Regions from separate parts of the Homo sapiens genome. Here region 2 is linked to region 1. The links are contacts of gene promoters, found by promoter capture Hi-C in human tissues and cell types (Jung and others, 2019). All regions are on one chromosome and are shown on one strand. The core of a region is centred on a gene start or on the middle of the fragment in contact, and the rest is flanking DNA. Distances in the headings are between cores, read along the strand shown. Region 1 holds the start of CBLN1 (cerebellin 1 precursor). Region 2 has its middle 220 kb from the start of CBLN1.

Evidence for each region. The method cuts DNA at HindIII sites, captures the fragments that hold promoters and counts their contacts. A contact is called where the count stands out against the background at its distance.
Region 2: a contact is called between a fragment that was not itself captured here and the fragment with the promoter of CBLN1 in region 1, in 2 of the 25 tissues and cell types used here (H1 embryonic stem cells and dorsolateral prefrontal cortex).

Annotation. Positions count from the first base shown.
Region 1 is chr16:49,280,314-49,283,303 of GRCh38, forward strand. It overlaps CBLN1 (cerebellin 1 precursor), which reads right to left and starts at 1,525. Exons shown (of 3, transcript NM_004352.4): 1 at 889-1,525; 2 at 610-729. The coding sequence starts at 1,152. It overlaps SYNAGE (synapse stability regulating cerebellar lncRNA), which reads left to right and starts at 1,749. Exons shown (of 4, transcript XR_933530.4): 1 at 1,749-1,919. RefSeq lists an enhancer at 629-1,246 and silencers at 1,599-1,708, 2,079-2,178. The HindIII fragment of the contact is 18,550 bases long and covers 1-2,990 here.
Region 2 is chr16:49,058,512-49,061,501 of GRCh38, forward strand. No RefSeq gene overlaps it. Among named protein-coding and RNA genes, the nearest start is that of CBLN1, 220 kb to the right of the region's middle. RefSeq lists an enhancer at 2,044-2,820. The HindIII fragment of the contact is 7,245 bases long and covers 1-2,990 here.

The DNA of each region.
Region 1 (2,990 bases), core at 275-2,774:
ACCCGGAGAGCCGGCGAGTGATTGCTGGGACACGGCTGGAGCCGGGAGAGAGTAGCACTACGCCCCCTCCCTCCCTCCTCTCTCTACCCCTCACCCTCCGGGGCTAAATGCTGCTAGCTCAAAAACCCACAGTCCGCACGGGGTGGGGATTGGGGACAAGTGGGAGAAAACGGGGGCCCCGTCCGTGGTGCTGAAGACAAGCACGCAAGCCGCATCGCAGGCTTCTGAGCCGGGGCAAGGGGTAGGGTGTACTGTCGCGGTGCTTCCTGGGGAGTCCGGGAAGGCTTCCCAAGCGGCAGCTGTCTGGGGCGCTAACAACAGCCGTTACAAGGAAGTCCCTGAAATCCAGGGAACCCTTCGGAGAGGCCCGGAAGGCAGAAGCAGAAAATTCTGTCTCTCGGGGGATGGGGCTGGATCCCAAGAGCCAGAGACAGGGAAAGCAGAGGACAGTTGAAGCCACAGAACTGAGAGGCCCCGCTATCTGTCCCTCCAAGCAGCCCGAAGTACATGCAGCCGCCACTTCTGCCTACCACCTCCGGACAGCCCGAGCACCCCTGAGGCCAGTAACCCCCCTACGGGGCCAGGGCCCGGCACGAGGCGTCGGCTGACCTGTATGGTTTGTCTGTTGTAGACTTTTACCACGTGGAAGTTAAAACTGTAGATCCCTTTGCGCGGGGCGATGAAAGTGCTGCGTTCTGAATCAAAGTTGTTCCCAATGTTCACTAGTACCTATAACGAGACGGGAACGAAGGGGAGTGGGCAGGAATCGGTCCCGGACTGTCGTCCCCGCGCCTCCGCAGAGCCCTTGGAGAGGACCGGGCATCGGTCTTCCATCCATCCCTCCTTCACCAGCCCAATCTGCACGCCGCGGGAGGAAGGAACACTCACCTGGTCGAAGTAGATGATCATGGTGCGATTACTCATCTCGGACGGCTCGTGGTTGGTGCTCCTGATGGCAGAGAAAGCCACCTTGGCGCTGCCAGAGCGCACAGAGATGCCCAGGGCAGTGCCCGTGGGGTCGGACGTGGGGTTGGAGTCGCACACCACCAGGCACTTGCCCTCCAGCACGATGGGCTCCGTCTCATTCTGCCCGCGGGCCGGGCCCGCCAGCCACGCAGCCCCCAGCAGCAGCAGCTCCAGGACGCCCAGCATCGCGCCGCCGGCGCCCACCCCGCCCCCCACCCCCAGGGCTGCTCGCGCCAGCCGCCCCCCCCGTCCCAGTCCCGCTCCGAAGCCCCCTCCTCAGCTCCGTGCGCAGCTCCGCCGCCGCCGCTCTGGACACTACACCTCTTCCTCGCACTCCGGGACTAGCGTCCCCTCCGCGACTAGCGTCCCCTCCGCGCTGTGTTCCCGGAGCCCCTCCCGGGCCTCAGGGGTGCCGCGGCTGCCCAGCCGCACTTGGATGCATAGCCGCTGCTGCTCGGTCCCGCTGCTGCCGCCGCCTCCTGCCCGCACCCGCCGCTGCCGCCGCCGCCGCCGCTCTGAATTATTGATGCAGCCGGCGCTGCAGCCGGAGCGGGCGGAGAGCGCGCGCCGGGCACAAAGGCGCGGACCTCGGCCTGGCCCCGCCCCCGCCGCCTCCCGGCCCGCCTCCCTCCGAGGCCCTGCCCCCGCCCCGGCCGAGGCCACGCCCCCCAGCCAATCCTGACGCGCCGCGCTCCCCACCGAGCCAATGGCGGCGCTGTCCGCGCTCGGCCACCTGACCCCGGGCGCCGTTGTTATTAGGCGCGGCGAGGCGGGTGGCGCGCGGCAGCAGGGTTGGGCTCTCGCCGTGAGTCGACGAAGGGAGCGCGGGCGCGCGCCCGCGTCCGCGCACTGAGAGTCGCCTCGGCCGCTCGCTTTCTCGACTCCCGCCTCGCGCCTCGATCCTGTTCCGCCTCCCTCGGCCCTCCTGCCCGCCCCCACTCGTCGGCCCTCAGGTAGGAGGCGGCGCGCCCCGGGGTCGGGAGTGGAATCGCTGGAGGCTGCGAGTCGCCTGCCCGCCTGTGGGCGCGCCCGTTGGGAGGGGAGCGCCCCCCAGCGGGCGCGGGCGCGAGGGCAGCCGGCGCGCTGGGCGAGCCTGGCTCAGGGTCCCGGCGGCCGGGGTGCAGGGCGCGTGCGCGCGCGGCGGGGCGGGGCCTGCGCGGCTCTGGCGGGCGCACGTGGTGCCCGGGAGCTGCTGGGCGGGCACTCACCGCGGGGACTCGGTGCGGAGCCGGGGCGCCGAGTGTCTCCGTGTCCCTCTGCCCCAGCCGGCGGCCGCGATGGTGGAGCTTGGCCTCTCGCTCTCTCCCGCCTCTCCAGCGACTGCTCTGCCGGCCGCGGAGGTCGGATCGAGCGGTCATTCATTCATTTGTTAATTCGTTCACTTATTCAGGGGAGATCATTGAACCCCTACGGAGTACCGGGTACTGGGCCGGGCGCTGAGGACGCGGGGCTGAGCAAAAGCAGCCGAGGCCCACCTTCGTGCCCCTTAAAACCCAGCGTGCGGGGCGGCAACGAGTACTGCTTTTCTGTTTTGCACTTAAAATTTACATTTTGCATCCGTACTTTTTATTTACTGTGCACCCTTACGGCATGCTTTACGCACCCGTACCTGCACCTCCTAGCCTTGAGTGTAGACACCAGATCCTGAGATGGGCGATTTTTCGAGAATAATTTTTACCCTAAGTGGATTTTCGTGCCACGCATGGACTTGGAACTACACACACGTAGTCCAAAACGTGAAAGTCAAAATGCAGCTTTGCCAAGTGGCAGGGAGAAAGGAGAGCTGAGAAGATGAGGAGAGGAAGGGCGCGCTCCAGGCTTTCCAGCCCGGGTGCGGTAGACGTAGCCCTGAAGGATGAACCCAGGCTGGTAGTAGGGCGGCGGGAGGGCGGGGGGACCTGTCAGTCAAGTCCAAAGCAGAAACGCGGCGCCGGATCCCAGTCAGAGGCCGGCTGGAACGCTTCCCACAGGCTCCTGGCGCTCCGGTCCCCACCAGGCGACCTTGATCCTGGCGTGCTCAGCGG
Region 2 (2,990 bases), core at 168-2,667, 220 kb before region 1:
ATGGCTTACTGCAGATTTGAACTCTTGGGCTCAAGCGATCCTCCCACCTCAGCCTCCCAACCCAAGTAGCTGGAACTACAGGTGGCGCCATCACACCTGGCTATTTTTTTTTTTTTTTTTTTTTTTTTTTGGTAGAGAAGAAGTCTTTCTCTATTACCCTGGCAGGTTTCAAACTCCTGGCCTCAAGCAATCCTACCTCAGCCTCCCAAAGTCCTGGGATTACAAGCATGAGCCACTGTGCCCAGCCCCTTCTACCACTTTCTAATGCAGCCCCAATTCTTGCCATCAGACACTTTGGTGAAAGTGTTTCTGCATTTTTCATTTCTGAAAAAGCACCAGACAAAACCATCCTAGATTTTAATTTTTTTATGATTGGATTTTCCATCACCAATTCCTTTTCCCAGGATGGTTGAGTTATGGGAACACCTGACACTTAGCAGAGAGGAAGTAAATGGCACTTCCTAAGTGGTTCGATCCCATCTTTGGGGTACCTGGAACCAGGCATGAGAACCATCAGACTAGTTTCATACAACTTCTCATTTAAACATTTGTTGAATAAGATAATTTATTTGACAAATATTTACTGAGCACCTACGATGTGCCAAGCACTGCTCTAGCCACTAGGATAAAGTGAATATTCTAGTGGGGCACACAGGCCACAAACTTTTTTTTAAATGAATTGATAAGATTATTTCTGAAAGTAAAGGATGCCACGAAGAAAATGAGATGAGATATTTCTTATGTGAAAGCTTTGGCTGTATAGTTTGGCCCACAGTAAATGCCCAACTTGGGCTGAATAAATCAAACTTTTCAATTCAAATGGCCATCATTTGGCATATAGAAAAGACATTGGAATTCAGAGTTAAATGGCCATGAATTGTACTCTAGCTCTCTCAGTGCCTGTGTGTCCTTGAACAAGTTACTTAACTTCTCTGTGCCTTGGGGTCCCTATCCAGAGCTGGAACTAGAGTGTGGCAAGAGGCACTTAAGGAGCAAAGTTTAAGGAGGCTGTCATGTCAGGGTCATGCAAATGAAGAGTTGACACTGATAGGACCTTGAAAGTGAGTGCTTCCTTAAATCTTGTAGCCTGGGTGCTTCTTTTGCTTTGCTCTAGCCCCAGCCCTATTAAAATAGGAGAAATAATTGCACCTACCTCCTAAGGTTGTCATGAAGTAAGGATCAACTGAGATGTGAAGAGAGAAATGAGAGAATGTCTTGCAAACTGGCAGCTCTTTGTGACTATTTGGAGAAGCAAGCTGCCAGATCAGGCTGTGCCAAGGTAGCAGGCTGGGATTCAAACCCAGCTCCTTTGTGCCATTTTTCCAGTGCTAGAGAGAAAGTGGAGAAAGTGGGAGAGCTTTCACATGCTGTGAGTTCTATTAGCACCAGATCCACACTCGCAGTTGGGCTAACCATGTGCTGAGTGCATTTTGCCATCATGGCCAGGGCAAATCTGAATGTATGTCTCTGGACACACACTCACACTCACACTGGATGCAGCCAAGACTGAAGGATTTTTGTTTTTTTAATTTCAATTTGTGTTTTAGATGCAGGAGGTACATGTGCAGATTTGTTACGTGGGAATATTGTGTGACGCTGAGGTTTGGAATACAGATCCCATCACCCTGGTAGTGAGCATAGGATCCAATAGGTAGTTTTTTTTACTCACTACCCCTTCCTCCACCCTCTAGTGGTCCACAGTATCTATTGTTTCCTTAATTATTTTCATACGTACTCAGTGTTTAGCTCCCACTTATAAGTGAAAAATATGGTATTTGGTTTTCTGTCACTGCATTGATTTGCTTAGGATAACAGCCTTTGGTTCTATCCATGTTACTGCAAAGGACATGATTTCAGTTTTTATGGCTGCATAGTATTTCATGGCACATATGTATCATATTTTCTTTATCCAATCCACCCATTGATGGGCACCTGGGTTGATTCCGTGTCTTTGCTATTGTGAATAGTGCCGTGATGAACATATCCAAAAGAAAATAAATCGTTGTACCAAAAAGAAACATGCACTCATATTTTTTTTATTGTTAATATTCTTTTGCAGGCTCACCTCCTAGCTTTAGAATCAGGATTTTAGCCTTCCTCTGAAAAGACTGGGTAAACCACACAGGGTAGACTTCCAGAAAGTCTGCCCCTGTCCCTCCCCAGCCTGGGCACTGGAATCCCCCATGAAGAGACCCTGCCATGTATGACCCAGCATGGGGTTCCTAATGGAAAATGGCCAGGCTATTAGAGCTTTGCAAATTAAGGGTCCTTTCATTTATTACTATGCTCTGCTAAGGATGAGCATTAATTTTTTTCTCAAAGCAAATTCACTGGAAACAGACAGTTTAGAATTTATGCTTGTAATGATGGCTACATGGGCCATTAAGACCACCTCTAAGTGAGCTTAATTTGTAGCAGATAAATGTATATGTCTACATATTTTTCAACATAGTTTATGGTGCATCTTGCACAGCTGCGCCCAACTGATTAAATCCTCACAAAATTTAAATAGGAAATCCATTACGTAGACAGTATTATAGCCATTCATCATGGAAGCTGTTTCAGGTTAACTCTTTCAGTGCCAGGCTGAGGGAAGTGCCAAGATTTTTTCTGGGGTGTGGGGCAGGTCAAGAATGCAGGGGCTCCCTGTTCCCTTTCCCTTTTTGTTTCTACATTCCTGGGGGTGCAGGGAGCTCTTAGTACAGGGAACTTTTGAGCACAGGGAGAATAGACTCCAGGCTCACAGAGGCAGTTGGATCCTTGCTGTCTAGTAGTGGAGGTCTTCACAGCACCTATGCATACCCCAGGTTGTTCACACAGCGCTGGTCAGAGCATCCAGACCAGAGCAAATCCATCTCAGCAGTTCCCTGCCAGCTACTGAACCTGCTTAAATCTCAGCAGAGCACAAGAAGCAGCAGAGTGGAGTAGTGGTGGAAGAGTGATCAGAGCATGTGCTCTGGCCTCAGTAGCCATGGGTATAAGGTTCCGCT